7 separate regions of the Homo sapiens genome follow, and all the other regions are linked to region 2. Evidence: promoter capture Hi-C in human tissues and cell types (Jung and others, 2019). All regions are on one chromosome and are shown on one strand. The core of a region is centred on a gene start or on the middle of the fragment in contact, and the rest is flanking DNA. Distances in the headings are between cores, read along the strand shown. Region 1 overlaps DPH5-DT (DPH5 divergent transcript). Region 2 holds the start of S1PR1 (sphingosine-1-phosphate receptor 1). Region 3 has its middle 130 kb from the start of LINC01307. Region 4 overlaps DPH5-DT (DPH5 divergent transcript). Region 5 overlaps LINC01307 (long intergenic non-protein coding RNA 1307). Region 6 overlaps DPH5 (diphthamide biosynthesis 5). Region 7 has its middle 110 kb from the start of LINC01307.

Region 1 (2,700 bases), core at 192-2,691, 170 kb before region 2:
TAATAAGATTTAAATACATTAAAAGATACAATGCTGAGGCCGATTTCAGACAAGGGAGAGATCTCTATGACCTAAAGATTCTAGAACTCAAGCTGGGCTTTAAGGTTGAACAGAATTTGAAGAAGGACATTCTATGGTGCAAGCAGAAACACCTAATAAGAGTAAAGGCAAAGAGGTAGGAATGTGCAGGTCTTATTTAATTTTCTTTAATTCAACAACATATATCAAAAGCTTATTGTCTTCCGAGTATTTTTCTAATTAAAAATACAAAAATAAATATGGAATAGTCTTTACCCTCTAAGAATTTAATAATCTAGGAAATGGGAAATGACATTGACAAAACTACTACTAGATAGAGGATTTCTATGAATAGAATTTATATCATAACCTTTTATTTAAAGGTTGCCTGAGCAACACACTTTGGGTCAGAAAGATCTGGGCTTAAAATTTAGCACTGCCTCTTCTTAGCTATGTAACCTTCAGCTCCTTTGAGTTTACTTTTATCTGTGTCTATCTTCCACTGTATTTCACACATACAACCTGAAGCTCTTCATCAGCAAACTCATTCCCACCAGGTCAGAGAGAATTTCACTGCCAGCTGTACTATCAAGTAAATGGAACCTGGACTGTCTTTCCCACCATAGGCTTTGTATCACGTTGCTCCTTACCAAGGCTACATTAACCCAGTCCAGATTCCTGGGCTCCAGTTCCTGATGTCTGTCTACAGTCATTGCCATCCTGCCTCACCAGCTAAATTAACTGGCCCTGACTCTTCTCAAAACCACATCTACACTTACCATTCTTTTCAAAGTAGCTCATTGGACTACTCCAAAATATCAGGATGCTATCATTTCAGTTTTCTTCCACCTCTCACTCACGAGGTAACTGTCTCCTTTTGCCCAGGACTCGGGATTCCTGGAACTTGGGAATTTCAGTGCTAAAACTGGGAGAATCCCAGGTGAAACAGGATGAGTTAGTCATCCTAACACTAGCCTGCTTCGGGCCTCTAGCCCTTGTTTCTGAAGTGTCGACATATCTGCTGCTTAACCTAATCCAAGTTTGGCAGTCTTCTCAATTTTTTGGTGGGGACGGGGAGGTGGGATGGGGTCTCATTATGTTGCCCAGGCCAGCCTTGAACTCCTGAGTTCAAGTTATCCTCCCACTTCAACCCCCTGAGTAGCTAGGACTACAGGCGCACATCACTGCACCCAGCTACCTTCTTAATATTTTGAAGGTCAAAAGACATTCATATGACAGCTGATTCCCAAAATGTATTAGTTAGTACTGAGAATGCCAAGCCAGTTTAAAACTAAAAGCAATAGCAGGTTGCAAATTAAAACTTCTTGGTGCTCAAAAAAAATTAAGGACTTGGAACGGCAGCCAGATGGCTGGGGTGAAAGGTTTATATGATGTCATAGATAAAGCTGGTAAGTGGGTTTGACCAGGATCCCTTTTCTGTGTGTGTACACATGTGCAGATGGGCATGCACGTGTGTGTACATGAATATGAGGGAGAAAGTTAAATGCTATGAACAAATTTTGGAAAAATCAGATTGTAGAACTAAGATAATAACTGGATATAGCAAGGAAGAGCAACTTAACTAGGAAAATGGATTAATTAATAAATTATTCTCAAATTTATTTTTATCATAAATTTAAGTAAGCCCTTGGTTCCTTTTATTACGTTTCTATGATAATCTAGTATAAGAGAATACCTGATATAAATCCAAAGCAGGTGATTGGTTATTTCTAACTTAATATATCAATATTTCACAGGCAAGTCTGAGATGCATCAAATAATTGTCAGAAATAGGGAAAGAAAGATGAGTGGGCCGGGTGCAGTGGCTCATGCCTGTAATCCCAGCACTTTGGGAGGGTGAGGTGGGAGGCTCACTTGACCCCAGGAGTTCAATACCAACTTGTACAACATAGTGAGACCCTGTCTTTGTTTAAAAAAAAAAAAAAGGATAGTAGAAGCATTTATTTAGAACATTTGTGCAATTGATATTTTTAAATTAAAATGTTTTAGAAACTTTTGATATTCTTTTTCTTCACAACTTTATAATTGGTCTTGCATTTGATGACTTTAACTAAACATCAATAAACATATTACAAAATGTTTAAATAAATTTTATTTATTTAAATAAAATAAAATAAACATATTACAACCACAGATTTATTTCCATAACTGATTTTATAAAAAGTTCCCTTAAATAGTCAATGAAATGAGTTTCCTAACTTAGAGCGCTTTTTTTCCACTCAGAACTAATTAGCTATGCTTAAGACTTTCTCACAAGAATTTCTCTACAGAGGAAACAGTACTTTCACTTTGAGGCTCTCCACTAGAATAAAACTATCTATGGGAAGGATCATGTCCCCTCTACCATCCCCATTTTCATATAGGCTTTTAAATGTTCACATATAGGCTATATGTTTCATATAGGCTTTTAAATGTTTAAATCTGTTGGTGTTCACAGAACTGCCTTTTCTAATGCAATGATTTTGAGGCAAGATGATTTGGGGAGACAAAACTACAGTTTTACTAAGTAAATTTGGGCTTCTAAGTCAGTAACAAAGGGCATATCAGATATTCAAAAAAGTAAATTCTGAATGTATAAGTTCAGGGGGTTTCTATTACCATATTAGTCCTTAGCTGTTAATATACCACAATAGAGACAATTCATACTGAGTATACAGTTAC
Region 2 (2,700 bases), core at 1-2,500:
TGGGTGGAAACTTTTACAACAGTAATGCAAGGGCAGAAGCGTCCTGTCCTGAGCTTGTCACGCAGGCAGATCTGACCAAGTCCGCCTCTCAGCCTCACGTTCTTAAGTAGCATCTAAGCAAAAGAAAAGGGTGGGCAAAGTGCTAGTAATGAGATTTGAGGCCTCTGAGTCGACTCCCAAGCAGAATGTGAGAGAAGGGTGCCGGCTCCTGCTGGGCAGCTGCAGTTGCTCCGCAGCTCCTGGCCGAGAATCTCCCCCTTTGGAAATTCCTGAGCTGCCCAGGCGTTTTGAATCTCTCAGGACTCAGCAGCAGCCCACCCCCTCAACGACCTCTCCATTGGCCAGAATCTGGGACACACAGCCTGACTTTGTGCTCAGCTGAGGGAAACCCCTCGCCCAACACCAAAACCGGCGCTGGTTCATTTCTCTGTGCACTCTGGGAAAGCCACTGCCCCTCAGACCGCAGTTGCGAGTAGCACGAGGATCTGGGGTGGCGGGGGGAGTACAGGAACCTCCCGGTTCATTCTCCCTCCCGGGCTGCTTGTCTCCTCCGTACCTCTCGCAGCCCCTTCCCAGCCTCTCCTCCCCAGAGCGCCGCCGACACTCGCCGGGCCGCGGCTCAGGTTTTCTGCTGCTCGCGCGAAAGTGGCTCGGGGAGCTCCTGGCCACAAGCTCAGCACACCGATCCTCCTAGGGCTGCGGGGGGTGTGGGACCAGGGCGGTGCGCTACGAGACTCCGGGCCGTCCTCTGCCTCCTCAGACTTTTCGAGAGAAAAGTTTTCAAAGTCTCTCCACCTTTTTTTTTTTTCAGGGGCTCGGGAGAATCCTCTCCACAGCCAGGGATCAGCGTCTATCTGGGCGAGGGCAGTGATTTATACAGTAGAATCCAGGGGTTACCGGGCTCCGCCCCTTCTCTCTCTCTCTTTTTTTCTTTCATTTGTTGTTTGGGGAGGAGGGGTTCTTTTTTTTTTTTTTTTTTTTTTTTTTGCTTCTGCCCCAGATCTTTCCTGGACAGTGCGTCTCAGCAGTTCAGATCCGGGGGCCCCCAGCTGACAGAGGGCGTGGGGGGTTAAGGCATTAACCCCTCCCAGCCTCTTCCTGAAGAAACCACCCAGCCTTGGCGCGGCGCTGGGTGACTTCGCGTAGCAGGCAGGGAACTGGCCGCGGCGAGCGGGACTGGCCATTGGAGTGCTCCGCTGCGGAGGGAGGGGACCCCGACTCGAGTAAGTTTGCGAGAGCACTACGCAGTCAGTCGGGGGCAGCAGCAAGATGCGAAGCGAGCCGTACAGATCCCGGGCTCTCCGAACGCAACTTCGCCCTGCTTGAGCGAGGTAGGGGGCGGCGAATGGCGGGGGTCGCGGGCGCGGGGAGCCCGGTTGTGGTAGGGCTTAGGTGTCAGAAACGAATTTTTAAGTCGAACGAGGCAAACAAAAACTTAGAAAACATGCATCTCCGGGCGCTGAAAATTTGCATCTCTGGGCTACTAAGGAGCCCATCTCGATCAGATTGTTCTTGGGCACTTGTGATTTATGGAGTTCAGAAAAAAGGTTAATTCCCAACTGTGGAACCTACGGGTGTAGGGGCAGTGAAAATTGCAGTTGGTCGGAGGAATAGGAGGGAAGGCGTTAAATTTTGGAAATCCTATAGACAAAGAATATGGTGGGTGGTGTGGAGCGTGGGTAATGGCTTAAATTAGTACTGCCCAGGAGCAGGGTATAAAATTAGTTGGGGGAAAATGCGGAGCTTCTTGGCTTGAGCAGCCTCTGCTGTTCGCGGAGTTGCTGGGATTGTTCTCATCTCTATTACCTCATTTTATTGCATTGCTGCATTACCTTGAAATATTTAAGCAACTTAGAAGTAGACTTCTGCTGACCAGTGCCGTCTTAGAAAGTTTCTTTGTAACTTTCTAGTCCTAGGAGAGGAGTCAACGTGTTGGGGGACTGCAGTAAATAAAACTGCCCACGCAAATTTAGCAATGCACCAGGGAGCAGTTTAATGTGAGTTTCTGAAGAGTAGTTTTGCAATCGAAATTAGAAATGTGGTAGCATGTATTATGGCTGTCATGAGTAGTTTGATTTCTCTCTTTTGTGTATGTTTTGGCTAAACTAAACAAAGCAAAAAATATTTATGCAATCAACTAATGTACGAAACTTCTGGGATTTGCTGCAATCTGTTATGAATGGTTTTAACTGAATACCTTTAAATTTACTTGCCCTGGCTTGGGGTGGGGGGTGGGGTGGGGGGGCGCGGGGGGAGGCGGGGAGAATAAGAAGAAGAAAGAAAAGGCAGTCGCTTCACGGAGGCGCTAAGCTTTCCTGTTTACAGCAAGGCGGGGCGGGCCTGGCTGCCCACACCTCACTGCGCCCTCGGACCCTAAGCACACCTGCTCCTAGAGAGTTATTAATAGAGCCCCCAAATGGCTTACGCTTTCAAATGATTTTCCTGCAAATCTGATTTCTTGCATGGCACATGGCAATTAGGAGGTGGTGCTAGTATCTTTGAACTGGGGGGCTGGGGGTGGGCATGGGGGACAGAGGTGTGTGTCTTCGCCCTCAGACTGGCAGTTGAGTCTTTTCCGAGGAGAGACGTGGGCTGGTATTGAGCGTGCAGCTAAGCTGGTGACTGCTTCAGAGAATCTCATGGCTGGAAATCCGGGGGTGAGGGGGTGTGGGGTGGTGAGAGGGCAGGAGTGGAGTTAAA
Region 3 (2,700 bases), core at 107-2,606, 220 kb after region 2:
AGGAGAGATGGTGGCTTGTTGAGTTCTTTTGCACCATGTAGGAAGCAGCCAAAGGTTTTCTATGTCCTCAGGAGACACACAAAATGAGAGAAGAAGGTGGGAGGGAAGAGAAACAGAGAATATGTAGGGGTGTTCTTCCTGAAGTCACAGGAAAGAAGGCATCTCAGCAGATGCTAGTGTGGAGAGATGAGAACAACTTTCTACCCACTTCCTGCCCCAGCCCACAGCCTTGACATCCTGTAGGCTTCCCCTTCCCTATATTAAACCAATCTTGGAAAAAGGAGGAGAAAACTGTAATTGAATCGTATATGCCACCTGGTGGGATGGGGGCTAAAAATAGAAATTCCGTCTTGGTGATAGTGATGTTATATTTCTTGCATACCCAAGCTTTATTCCTCTGACATTTGTGAATATTCTTTCCCTCAAGCTCACCTCAAAGTCCTCATCTTTCAAGAAGCATTCTATTGCCTTTCCTCGGTATCACATAATTTCTGATTTATTTCCTCCCTTGCACAGTGCCGCTGGACTAAGAGAAAGAACATGCAGATTCTAGTTTCAGCTCTCATTTGCTGAATGTCTGATGGAGAACAACTCACTATCTCTGGGTCTCCATTTGCTTTTATGTAAAACAGTATGTCAGAGGAGGTTGTGAGTTAAAGCTGAATAATGGATGAGGAAGTGTTTTTATTATTTTTATTTTTTGAGACAATGTCTCTGTTGACCAGGCTGGAGTGAAGTGGCGTGATCTCAGCTCACTGCAACTTCCTCCTCTGGGGTTCAAGCTATTCTCCTGCCTCAGCCTCCCGAGTGGCTGGGATTACAGGCCTACCCCACCATGCCCAGTTAATTTTGTATTTTTAGTAGAGATGGGGTTTCACCATGTTGGCCAGGCTGGTCTTGGACTCTTAACCTCAAGTGATCCGCCCCCCTCAGCCTCCCAAAGTGCTGGGATTAGAGGCATGAGCCACCACACCTGGCCGAGGAAGTGTTTTGAGGACAAGAAAGTTTCAAATGCATGTAAAGTGGGATTATGGCTGCAACTCTTTTACCCTGGCTGCAATATTCCTAGCTGGGAATGTGATTTTGGTATCATTTATATATTTAAATTAGGCATGAACTACATTTCAGGATCTCTATTCCCACTCATTGAGAGGTTGAGGAAAATCCAAGAATCGAATCCCTTCTCAGTTAAGAAGTAAGTTAGCACAGACCACTTTATCCCTCAAAGAGGGAGAGAAAATAATTCCAAGAAGCTTCTTTGTTCTAAAACTTCATCTGCTCCTCCTAAAGACGATTCCTATAAGGAGAACCTCCCAACAGCTGATCTCCAGCAGGATATTTTATGTCATCTATAGTTCTTGACCCATTAACCCTTCAGATGCCTTCTGTGTCAGGAATTCGGACAGCTTCATGCTCCCAGCTGCACACCTGCCAGGGCAGAACAAAACAAAACAGGTGTACAGCTGAGTCCCCTGGTGGCAGATACAGTTTCTTCTCTTTTTCAAAAGTTTTTAAGGTTGGCCTAAGGTAGCAGGACTGTAACATAATAACACACGCACTCATTTACTTGTCCTTTCAATTTCCATTTTGCCCCCGGAGATTGCCCTGCAGGACTTAGCTAATGCCCAATTCATTACTTTAGCAAACATGAATTGAAAACCTATTATGTGCCAGCTGTGGGGGACAAAGGGATCTATGAGATGTGGATCCAGCCCATGTGACCTTAGAACCTAAAGGGAGAGGTGACTAGCTAAGCTGTAAAATAAGTCCTGCTCAGTCTAGGTGGCTCACACCTGTAATCCCAGCACTTTGGGAGGCTGAGGCAGGAAGATTGCTTGAGCCCAGGAGTTCGAGGCCAGCCTGGGCAACATAGTGAGACCCCATCTCTACAAAATATACAAAAATTAACTGGGTGTGGTAGGGCGCACCTGTAGTCCTAGCTACTTGGGAGGCAGGAGGATTGCTTGAGTCCAGGAGGTTGATGATGCAGTGAACCATAATCATGCCACTGCACTCCAGCCTGGGCGACAGAGTGTGACCCTTTCTCAAAAAAATAAAATAAAATTGTATAAAATTACCTTCAGGATAGATGTATAAGGTATGTGAGAAACACAAATAAATCCCCAACATATTTCATTATGTATATGCAAATATTTTAACATACAACAAGTAAAAAATTGAAAACACTTTCTATCCCAAGCATTTAAGATAAGGTATACTCTACCTGTACTGGAAATATCAGACACAGACTATGAGACAACTATGATTACTACTCAGGAAGTAAGCATCAAGTATAAAAATGGTGATAGATAACTGTACATTCTAAAGACTAATAGCACATATACAGTATGAATTCTAGACCTAATTTCAATAATTAAAGAACACAGTGAATGAGTGTAATAGTAGATTAGATAGAACTGATGAGAAAATTAGTGCACTGGATGGTGTGGCAGAAGAAATTTGTTATGATGAAGTACAGAGAGGGCAATTTGTGAAAAATATTGAGGAATAGGTCATTGATATAGAGGACACAGTGAAAAGTTTAGCTGGATTTCAAGCAGGAAAGGAGAGAGAGAAAATGTGGCAGATAGAATATCTGAAGAACCAATGACAGAATTTTCTGCAACTGATGAAATACAAAGATTCAAAACCCCAACATGCTTATATTAAGCATGCGAAATAAAAAGAAACCCATACCTA
Region 4 (2,700 bases), core at 184-2,683, 150 kb before region 2:
AGCGGATTAAGGGAATGCAAGGACATGAAAGAGTGTCCTAGGCAGAGGGAACAACATATACAAAGGCCCTGAGGTGGGAGTGAACAAGGAACTGAGAGAAGAACTGAGAGAAGGCCACTGTGGAAAGCCAGATGCTGTGTGACATGAATAATGGGACACAGGAAATTGAGATATTAGCAAAAGAGAGATTGATGACCCATAGGCTTGAAGATGTACTGGAACTAAAGTAAGGGGCGAGGATAAATAAAAAGAGGGAGAAATTGGAGAAACAGAGTGCTTGGAAGCCCTGATGAATTTGAGGAAAAGGATGGTGATAGAGTTGACCTAGCCAGCTAGAAGAGTAGTACTTTTTAGTCAGTGAGCCCTCCATCCCATTTCTCATTAATTCTTGTAACACTTTCTCACTTCCTATATTCTGTCATATTTTATAGTTGTTTATATAATTATCTTATTCTTTATACCAATTGTAGTTTCCCTGGGTGCTTATTATGGATTAACAATTATATTATTATTAATAATATGGGTGAATGTTTACAAAGAAAGAAGTCTTTTTTGCTATTCTTATTTTATTTCTTTAATCTTTGATCAGGGGTTTTTATTTATGAATTCATCTTATATGTCACTTGACAAACACTGAATGCTGAATGCCACAGAGTACATGACACTTTAGCAGCATAAAGAAAGGCACCAAAACCAAGCAGCAAACTACATGCTACAAAACAACAATTTTTGGAATTAATGAATGAGGCTAATTTTCTGGAGTCCTCTCTCTCTTTTAAAATGTAAGAAGTGTTAGTATGGCCAGGCATGGTGGCTCATGCCTGTAATCCCGGCCCTTTGGGAGGCCGAAGTGGGCAGATCACCTGAGATCAAGAGTTTGAGACCAGCCTGGCCAACCTGGGGAAACCCTGTGTCCACTAAAAATACAAAAATTAGCCAGGCATGGTGGCACGTGCCTGTAATCCCAGCAAATTGGGAGGCTGAGGCAGGAAAATCACTTGAGCCTGGGAGGCAGAGGTTGCAGTGAGCTGAGATAGCACCACTGCACTCCAGCCTGGGCAACAGAGTGAGACTCAAAAAAAAAAAAAATGTAGGAAGCGTTAGTATGTCTAGGTCTATTCACAGGTTTGGAAGGAGAATGGGGATAGAAGACAGAGCAGAAAATTAGTGGTAGGATTCAGTAGATCAGATCTCCAGCTTCTTAGTACCTTTGATATTTAGTCCAGTTATTGAATTTCTCTTCAATTCTTCAGTCAGAACTTCTTTTCATTCCAGTGGGATTGCTTCACACTTAAGAGAATTAATGTACTTATACAAAGCCATTTTCAGAAGGGAATCACTAATATTATTATGATGTAAACAAATGATACTAGGTACTTTTCCCTTAAAGTGTCTGTTTTAAACACACATTTGTTTTTCTGCTACATCGAGTTCATTGAATCTCATTTGTATTTTCTTCGTATGTTACCTTATACAGTTATACGCAGGATGTCCCTGTTTTTTCAGTTAGCTGTTAGATAAATTCACCATACATTCGCTTTCAACCTTGTGTTTAAAAAAAATTAGTTACATGAAGTAGTCATCCACATGACATAAGAGACCTAATTTTAATAGGAAATAATATTAAAAATGTAACTCCTAGAAAATGTTAGTGATCATCATCTTCCTTTATTTTTTTTCCTAGGTACTTCCTAAGCGTGGCTACTCCAATGAAGCTTTAGTATATGTACTGAAAGAAGATCCTCTCATACTGCCACAGCCAAGAGATAAGGTTGTAAATCTTTATTGGGAGAAGCCGTCAAGGACAGTTCTGTGAAATGAAAGGATCTCTGGATCACCACAAAGTCTGGCTCAGTGACTATGGCTTTGCAAACACTAAACATTCCTGTCTCAAGTCCTGTAGATGGCTTGAAATAGTATACATAAGCATGCCTTATAAACATCTTCAGTCTTTATCAACTCTTTGGAGATTCAGCCATTCTTTTTTGTACTTTAGGGAATTAAATCATTTTATAATGTATAAATCTGAGCATGGCCGATGGCAGAAGAAATTTTGTCATACGTTTTTAAAGAAATAAAAATGTATTATGTTTTAAAATTCCTTTAACTGTTTTTCTTACAAAATTCCCAACAACTTAGTTACCAAGTAAACTATCTCAGATATGATTTTTCAGTCCTTGCTAATCTATTTATAAAATCTTTTGCTATTTTATAATCTTATTATTTGTGTCTGTCCTTAAGTGTTCATTTGTTTTTATGTCTGTGTATGTCATGTTTATTTGAGCTGTTTAATGTAAAGTAAAACAAGAACTCCCTGCATCTTATAGCATAAAAAGCAATGTTTTTCATATTCTTACCCTAATAGAAACCCTCATTCACAGAGTGATGGCTAATGCTCTACCTTTCTGCAATTCCTAGTCAGAGAACTGTCCAAGTCTCACATGACCTGCATCTTGAAGAAGAAACCTATCACGAGTTAGTTCTTAGCTATACAGGTTAACAAACTCAAATGACCCACTAACTAAATCTTGATTCTTAACAAAAACACTATGGTCTATCATCATAACAATGTCAATTTCTCACATTATCATTTTGAATCAACAATATGCCATCATATCAAAGAGAACTTATCATATTAGCATATTGAATATAAAATTACAGTGCAGCTAGTTCCAAGACCTGAATGAGTGTGGTATATAA
Region 5 (2,700 bases), core at 201-2,700, 130 kb after region 2:
TGGATATTAAAGAATGGGATGGACGTAATGTAAAGGAAACTCCAGACAGAGAGCAAATGTGAGCAAAGACTTGGAAGTAAAAACAACACGTTGAATGTAAGGAACCATAAGCATTTTTGTTATGCTAGTGGATAAAATTGAATCAGGGAATAATGAAGAGTGAGGCTGGAAAGGTAGGCAGGTGCCTTATCATGAAGAGTGTTAAAGGTAGGGTGACTGTACCATTTTTCTAAACCCAGATGCTTTTTATTTTGAGACAGAGTCTTACTCTGTCACTCAGGCTACAGTGCAGTGGCGTGACCTTGGCTCACTGCAACCTCCGCCTCCCGGGTTCAAGCAATTCTCCTGCCTCAGCCTCCTGAGTAGCTGGGACTATAGGCCTGTGCCACCACGCCTGGCTATTTTTTTTTTTTTTTGTATTTTTAATATAGAGATGCGGTTTTGCCATGTTGGCCAGGCTGGTCCTGAACTCCTGGCCTCAAGTGATCCTCCCGCCTTGGCCTTGGCCTCCCAAAGTGCTGGGATTACAGGCGTGAGCCACCGCACCCAGCCAAGACACTTTTGAGAGTGAAAGCAGTCTCACTAATAATTATCCTAGGGCAAAAATGGAAAACTAGGACCCTCTCAGGAAAACTGGGAGGCATCCTCACCCTACAATTATGACAAGTTAAAAGGCTTGGACTTTATGCTGCAGGCAATGAAAATGTATTGAAGAGTTTTGAGTTTGTGGCTGCTTGGCATCTGCATATGCTTCCTGTTCATGGAATTGGATATTCTTTGCTATAGGGATTCTTTCCTATAGGAATAGATATCCCCTCCTACAGCTATCAGGCAGGTCGGGGGCAGGCATGTGACCTGTCTCTGCCAGATAGATGCTGTGGCCCGGGACCTTAAGTTCTGAGGGAGAGAAGGGAGGAGTGTGAGCATGGTGGTGAGCTGTAGCACTGCCAGAGGTGGTGGTGTCTAGAACAAAGTTCTAAGCAGACCATTCCTGTGGCCCAGTCTTGGCTGTACCTTGTCTCCCCTGATACATGTTTGTTTCTGAGCCTGGTTCTCTAGGCTATGCATTGATTTACCTCTCTGTAATCCTTTCAGTAGAACTTTTGTTTGTAAGGTGAAGTCACAGTTGAGGCTTGTTTCAGTTGGATCACCCGGGTGGCATGGTCCTTCTGCTGTGTTCTGAGAGGAGTTGTGAAGACCATTTGCAATCATCCTCCTCTCTAAGCAAAGCATAAAGAGAACAAGACCTGCCCATGATTGTCCCTCTTAAGGCCTTGTGTAATCACAGAGAATGACAATATGCTGGAGGTGACCCCAGCTGGCCCTCCACTGCTGCTGTTGGACACATTGATAGCACAGGGCAGAGAGTGTGATGGAGGCCTGTGGGGACATTTGGCTTGAACTTTTCAAAGCCCAAATGATGCTGGCCATAAAGGAAAGGCCCTGAAGTCTCCAGGGCTATTCCTTATGTGAATAGTAAATTCTCCTCAAGAAGAGGGGATAGAAAGCTGCATTAGGTAAGTATAAATAAAGATGCCATTTTGCTCTGATCTTTAAAGGATTAGCTTAATAAGAAAAAACAGTGTATATTTTCTGAACTTGCGTTAATTAAGAAAATCACTGAAGTTGTGCTTCCCATAGTTTTCCTTGTGTTTTGTCTGTTCCCTTTGTAATCCATTAAATTTTATGGCATTAGCAGGGATTTGAAGCCCAGGATTTAATCAGTAGTCATTTCTCCTGTATCAGCACTTTTGCACAGTGCTTTGTGTATTAAGCAGTATTTTAGTGCATTGTCTGACCTTTATCTCTTGAATTGCACCACTTAATTGTAACTTCTATTTTGCCACGAGATATATATATATATATATATGATCAAAGGCTATGAATAGCACTTGTGAGTTTTTCCCAAAGGATCACAACAAAAGTCTAACGTGCAGAAATCAGAATTGTCCATGCATTTGGATCTGGGCAGATGCAGACTGGTAGTCTGTGCCCTCTGATGCTACGTAACTCTCCCCACGTCCTTTTTTTTTCCAACGTTAAATCATTTTAAATATGGTATTCAGGATTCTGGCTCACCCCTGGGTGCAATCCAAGTTTTGGACATGCTAGGCCATCAGATCTGAGGAAAATCATTCGATTGAATGGCATGCCCTGTTTTCCTACTGAAAGCTATGCTGATAATCCATTCTCCCTGTCTGACTGCCACACTGTCTTCTAGTGGCAGAAGTCTAAATCTTTAGGGACCCACTCTCTGTTTTCTCTCATGAGAACAGGGTTCCTCTCTTTGCACACAATGCTTTTCAGCATTGGAAGTGTTCAAACCCTTGTTCTCTTGGCCAGTACATCTGTGTTTGAGAGGATAGTAAGAAGCTCATTCATGTGGCCTCTGTCACCTCTCTGAGTCATATGGGAAAGCAAATCTAGGTTCACAGATTTGGCAACTGATAGGCTTAGTTTATTTCCAGAGCAGTTTCTCAGTATGAGTCATATCTGGGAGCATTTGATAGGACACCTTACTCTGAGCTCTGATGGGCAAATTTTGTTTTTGGGTGAGCCTGAAAGGTGAAGCTAATGGGTGAGCTGCAATCATAGCCTCCCTGATTCTATCTCTGCCTCTATCTCTCCTTCCTCTGACTTTGGTTCCCTTCCTTTCTTTCAAGACTGGTCTGTTCCTTTCCCTATTACATCTCTTTCAAT
Region 6 (2,700 bases), core at 106-2,605, 240 kb before region 2:
CTGTAATCCCAGTTACTCGGAAGTCTGAGGCAGGAGAATCGCTTGAACCTGGGAGGTGGAGGTTGCAGTGAGCCAAGATCACGCCACTGCAATCCAGCCTGGGCAACAAGAGCAAGGCTCCGTCTCAAAAAAATAAAAATAAAATAAAAGGCCGAGTGCAGTGGCTCACGCTTGTAATCCCAGCACTTTAGGAGGCCGAGGCGGGTGGATCATGAGGTCAGGAGATGGAGACCACCCTGGCTAACATGGTGAAACCCCATCTCTACTAAAAAAAATACAAAAAATTAGCCGGGCGTGGTGGCATGAACCTGTAGTCCTAACTACCCAGGGAGCCAAGGCAGGAGAATTGCCTGAATCCAGGAGGCAGAGGTTGCAGTGAGCCGAGACTGCACCACTGCACTCCAGCCTGGGCAACAGATTGAGACTCTGTCTTGAAAAAAAAAAAGTGGCAAACAGAAATCTTGTCTTATATTCTGAATATCTGTATTTAATATACAGAGGCCAAAATCATGGGCTTATTCTCTGCCCTGATCTTGTGCTATGTGATAGACATTTTGGTGAGTGACTTCACACACAGTTTCAGTAACACAGTACAATTCAAAGTATGATCTCAGGACCAATGCCAGTATGTGAGCTTTGTGTTGCCAGTAAATGATGAAGTAACTACAGGAGTAAGAATATGTACAAAATTTATAGTAACTTGACACTGACATAAAAGACCGAAAATTTAAAAATCAAACATATGTTTTAAACAACCCAACCATGGTTCTTTACCACAAATAGTCTGAGAAGTACTGCTCTATATAACTCCATGAAGTAGGAGGAATTATTCCTATTTGATAAATATGAAGGCTAAGGAATGTTTACAGTACTCTCTAACTAGTAAGTAGTAGCACTGGGATTTTGTCTTCTGATTCCAAGTAGAAGTATCATTGCAAAGTCATCAAAAATGTCAGTTAGCTGTGTTCTGTTTAGTCACAGATTAAGTCTTTGATACCAGTATTTCTTTCTACAACATATGCTACTAGAATAGGGGCTGATTAGCAAATGTGAATCGGTAAAATTTCAGTGCCTCTGCTAGAAAGAAAACACCATGGCTTTCTGAAACTCAGTACTATTATCTTGGAAAACAAAGACAGTGATCCCAGCTCTTTCCACACTAAAAAGGAAATAGGATTTGGGGAAGAAGGTACAGTGAAATGAGCTATTATTAAAAGGCTATCTGATTCTACCAGTTCTGCCAACAATTGACTAGGTGACATTGGGGAAATAATTCAATATTCTGGGCCTCAACTTCATCTGTAAAACAGGCCTCAATAAGATGATCTCCAGAGTCTCTTTCAGATCTATCATTGTGAATCTGATAGCATCAATACTGCAGTATTCAAAGAACCTCCCTAGGAAGATGCAGGATGGTCCTTGGTAAGGCTTGCTCAGTGCATGTCTATTGGATTGCAGTAAATCCTTGATGGACAAATGAGTAAGATATGGAATACTGGAGAGGATCTACTAGGGCAGGGCATAAGAGGGAGCAGTGTAACTATGGTGTGTATGCAGAAATAGCCATGTGGTACTTGAAGCAGAAGATGCGTGTCTCTCTAAGAGCATGGGAAAGAGTGTGGTCTGCATAGAATGGCTAGACTGTGTCTTTTCTTACCTCTAGCTAATTATCCACAGACCTTAACACAAAATCAAAATGAGAACAGTATGATAGTTCCATATTGTTACTTCAAGGAAATTCCAAAACCCTTACCTAGTAAACATAATGTGTGCATGCCATTTTGTCTGTTCTTCTTCACTTTGTCAAAGAAGCTTTCTGGTCTCCAAGTGTCTGTCCAAAAAACAATAGAAACTGTCTCTCCAAACTTATATAACTAGAAAAAAAAACATTAATTAATGATGGAACAATTAACTACTATTTCATAGATAAGGAGAGAATTTAATCATTTTACAACCAAAATAAAAAGTGAATATCCAACTCGAAATGGGTTGGGGATCAAATCTGTCACCAAAAAAGGTAACAGGAACTTCTCTTTGGTTCATGGTAGCTGGTGTCTTTCTGATGCTAGTAGTAAGTAAGTTTCAGTAATAAGTTTCTAGTATTTCTGCATTCTGTATAGGAACATGTGTAACAATTTCATAATTTAGCTATATAGTTGCTAAAAATACTGAAATGCAAAGAACCCAGGAGAAAAAAAAAAGAGTTCTGAGCAATCAGAGCGGGGTTCACAAGGTTAATATTGTTCTCATTTTACAGATGAGACCATCAAGGCTTAGAAAGAGCAACTGACTTAGCTAGTCACATAGCTAACTAATATAAAAATAAACACTTAAATCTAGCCTGAGGGAATGCTCCCTTCCATCACACTATCTCAAGAAAACAAAGCATATGCTCACTCCTGTCATTGTTCCAAACCTATAGTCCCTTAATTTGGCAAGATTGTATTTGTTCCCTCACTATAGAGTTCAGGGATGAGGGCCTTTTTCCAAACCTTCTCTTTAACCCACAAGTGGCCCACCCAGGTTCACCATCACTACAACCAAGAAGCTGGCTTCTCTGATCCAGACTGGCTGAACTAGCTCACTTAAGTGAGTCCAATTTCAAATCTTATGTGAGAAAATCTACTTTTGAATTCTGGCTCTGCAACTTGTTGGCTGTGTGATATTACTGTAAGATTTTATATCTAAAATAGGAATAGT
Region 7 (2,700 bases), core at 84-2,583, 190 kb after region 2:
AAATATAGCGTGAAAATCAGACTTAGAGCAAAAAGAATAAATGTTCTTTGGAAATGACTTTGACCAATGAATATTAGCCTGTTAAAGTCTCATTCTGTTTTCTAGATTTTTTTTTGATTACATAATTTGGATTTTTAAAAAAGAAAACTAGACTATGTTATTCACTGGACATGGCTTAGGAAACTGATAAAATAATGTCCTCTAACTTTCCTTTTTGTAGTGCCTGCATTGGCCCAAAATTCAACTCTTATTTTAGTTTTCTACCTCACTGCAATACCTTCTGAACATCTTTACAATGTCAGCATCCAATTTCACAGTGAGTACCTTTTCAATGGACTGTCTCTTAATTGCTTCTAGAATGTTTTCTAGGTGCCAAATGATCTTATTTATTTTGTGTGAATTACTTTTAGTCTCAGAGAATGTGTCCTTTTTATGTTCTTGATCTTTCTGTTTTCTAATTTTTAGGATCCAGAGTTAAGAATATAATAGAAGAGTATTTTACTCTTGGACCTTAAATGGTCACTGTCTACTCTCTAGATGAGGTATAATGCACATCTTTCTTAAAGCTGGCAGTGTATTTATATGCACATTTTACATAACCATTGCAATTATCTTATAACCCATAATCTAGACTCAAAAATGAAAGTTCATTCTGTAACCATATAAAACATTTTGTTTTAGCATATGCACTAAAAACCACAGACTTTTAAATTCTGTTCTTTTCTTTTCTAAGTGCTCTCATCTACAATAAAATCTGATTTAGGTGGTGATTTAGGAGAATGGAAACTATTAAAGTAAAACCAACCAGCAACTAAAAATATTTTATAGAGGAAAGGTAAGAATTCCTTAATGGTTTCTGATTATAAGCACCTTTAGAATAGTTCATAATGCTACATATAAAATTAAAGAATCATAGTAGTTTTCCTAAATGATTCAACAGATAGATGTTTTCTTTTAGCTTGGCAGACGGAATTTTCTTCCAGAATTCACATTTAAAACTACTTTTTTCTTTGAACAGAGTCTTGCTCTGTTGCCCAGGCTTGAGTGTAGTAGTAGCATGATCTCAGTTCACTCCAGCTGTGACCTCCTGAGTTCAAGTAATCCTCTTGCCTCAGCCTCCCAAGTAGCTGGGACCACAAGTGTGCAAGACCATGCCCGAATAATTTTACATTTTTTATAGAGATCAGGTCTCACCATGTTGCTCATCTCAAACTCCTGGGCTGAAGGGATCCTTTTGCCTTGGCCTCCCAAAGTGCTGAGATTATAGGTGTGAACCCCTGCACCCAGCCTAAAACTAAAACATTTTCTTTAACACTCAACCTGAGTTCGATCAACCATTTTGAAATCCTAAAAACAAACAACAATAACAACAAAAAAAGAAGGGCCATCAAAGTCTTATTGGGCTGACATAGCTCTAATATTGTTATAAACATGTACTATACACACACTACACATACCGTGGACACTTATACATCTTTTTTCAGATGCCCATATTTTTTTTATTTGGTTTTACTGTATAATAAAAACACTCAGGACACACAACCCCTCCCCACAATAAAACACCATTTCTCATTTTAAATGATTATATTTACAGGTGCTTTGGCCCCTAAAAAGTCATGAGTTGTTATGAACTTTATAAGAAGTAATATGTGAAAAATCCTCCAGAATATTAGTCGTTACGGTATATTCTCAAGCTCAGTGCTTCCAAATCTGGCTATCAGATTCCCTTTAAATGTTTACTTTTAAAAATGCTCTCCAGGTGATTCTGATGATCAGCTAGAAAGGGGAACAACTTCTTTTAAAATTTAATTTAATTTTAAGTTCCAGGATGCACGTGCAGGACATGCAGTTTTGTTACATAGGTAAACGTGTGCCATGGTGGTTTGCTGCATCTATTAACCCATCACCTAGGTATTAAGCTCCACATGCATTAGCTATTTATCCTGATGCTCTCCCTCTCCCCACACCTCCAACATGTCCCAGTGTGTGGGGAAAAACTTCTTAAGTCCCACTCCCAAGGAATAAACTGACTGGAGATGTCAGGACACTGTGGGATGTGTATTTGATCTAAACACGTTCCCTACTGCCTTCCTTCAGTTATAAAGTCTTATTCTTGTAAAGACAGCATCGTAACATTAATTATCTTTTCTGGTTACTCTTTATCTGTAAGTGATATATCAGATGCTGTTGAGCATTATCCAAATGTAAGGGAAGTATTATTATCACCACCTTAAGGCTAGGTTGTTGAGGTTCAGGGAGAATAACTTTCTCAAAGGAACTGTCATTGAGTAAGTCAATTCGGTTAACTTAAGGGTGATTATTAACTCACTAATGAGAGTGATCAGGAGTAACTGAAGCATCTTCAAGTCCTGTCATCAAGAGTCACCTTCCAAAATGAAAGATGCACAGGCCCTTTTATTTAAAAAGTCTTTAGAAAATTTCCACACACACACACACACACACACACACACACACACACACACACACACAGAATCATTTGTAAAAACCTGAGAACTAATGGTTTTAAAACTTTTATTCAGTAGAATAATTTATTTATGCGATTGAACAACAACTTTAAAGGATTTTCCAGACCTTATTTTCTCCAAACCTTAAATATTTTAGTTCATCCTATGAAGAAGCATTTGCTTTTTAAAAAGGCTGAAGGTTTGAGTAACACTTTGCTTTGATCCCATTTTCTGC

What was found. Contacts are between HindIII fragments. The study calls those that stand out against the background at their distance.
Region 1: a fragment that was not itself captured here is called in contact with the fragment with the promoter of S1PR1 in region 2 in 1 of the 25 tissues and cell types used here (lymphoblastoid cells).
Region 3: a contact is called between a fragment that was not itself captured here and the fragment with the promoter of S1PR1 in region 2, in 1 of the 25 tissues and cell types used here (lymphoblastoid cells).
Region 4: a contact is called between a fragment that was not itself captured here and the fragment with the promoter of S1PR1 in region 2, in 1 of the 25 tissues and cell types used here (liver).
Region 5: a contact is called between a fragment that was not itself captured here and the fragment with the promoter of S1PR1 in region 2, in 1 of the 25 tissues and cell types used here (lymphoblastoid cells).
Region 6: a contact is called between a fragment that was not itself captured here and the fragment with the promoter of S1PR1 in region 2, in 1 of the 25 tissues and cell types used here (H1 embryonic stem cells).
Region 7: a contact is called between a fragment that was not itself captured here and the fragment with the promoter of S1PR1 in region 2, in 1 of the 25 tissues and cell types used here (lymphoblastoid cells).

What each region holds. Positions count from the first base shown.
Region 1 is chr1:101,063,465-101,066,164 of GRCh38, forward strand. The region is part of intron 1 of DPH5-DT (DPH5 divergent transcript); the gene reads left to right. Among named protein-coding and RNA genes, the nearest start is that of DPH5-DT, 39 kb to the left of the region's middle. The HindIII fragment of the contact is 9,338 bases long and covers 1-2,700 here.
Region 2 is chr1:101,235,769-101,238,468 of GRCh38, forward strand. S1PR1 (sphingosine-1-phosphate receptor 1) reads left to right here and starts at 1,251. Exons shown (of 2, transcript NM_001400.5): 1 at 1,251-1,331. It overlaps S1PR1-DT (S1PR1 divergent transcript), which reads right to left and starts at 760. Exons shown (of 2, transcript NR_104626.1): 1 at 557-760; 2 at 1-113. RefSeq lists an enhancer at 341-430. The HindIII fragment of the contact is 36,645 bases long and covers 1-2,700 here.
Region 3 is chr1:101,453,899-101,456,598 of GRCh38, forward strand. No RefSeq gene overlaps it. Among named protein-coding and RNA genes, the nearest start is that of LINC01307, 130 kb to the left of the region's middle. RefSeq lists an enhancer at 1-135. The HindIII fragment of the contact is 4,104 bases long and covers 1-2,700 here.
Region 4 is chr1:101,085,168-101,087,867 of GRCh38, forward strand. DPH5-DT (DPH5 divergent transcript) reads left to right here. Exons shown (of 5, transcript NR_109849.1): 5 at 1,685-2,212. Among named protein-coding and RNA genes, the nearest start is that of DPH5-DT, 61 kb to the left of the region's middle. The HindIII fragment of the contact is 4,415 bases long and covers 1-2,700 here.
Region 5 is chr1:101,368,946-101,371,645 of GRCh38, forward strand. The region is part of intron 4 of LINC01307 (long intergenic non-protein coding RNA 1307); the gene reads left to right. Among named protein-coding and RNA genes, the nearest start is that of LINC01307, 46 kb to the left of the region's middle. RefSeq lists a silencer at 2,228-2,522 and an enhancer at 2,696-2,700. The HindIII fragment of the contact is 5,368 bases long and covers 1-2,700 here.
Region 6 is chr1:100,999,714-101,002,413 of GRCh38, forward strand. It overlaps DPH5 (diphthamide biosynthesis 5), which reads right to left. Exons shown (of 8, transcript NM_015958.3): 5 at 1,754-1,874. Among named protein-coding and RNA genes, the nearest start is that of DPH5, 25 kb to the right of the region's middle. The HindIII fragment of the contact is 3,285 bases long and covers 1-2,700 here.
Region 7 is chr1:101,428,943-101,431,642 of GRCh38, forward strand. No RefSeq gene overlaps it. Among named protein-coding and RNA genes, the nearest start is that of LINC01307, 110 kb to the left of the region's middle. The HindIII fragment of the contact is 7,567 bases long and covers 1-2,700 here.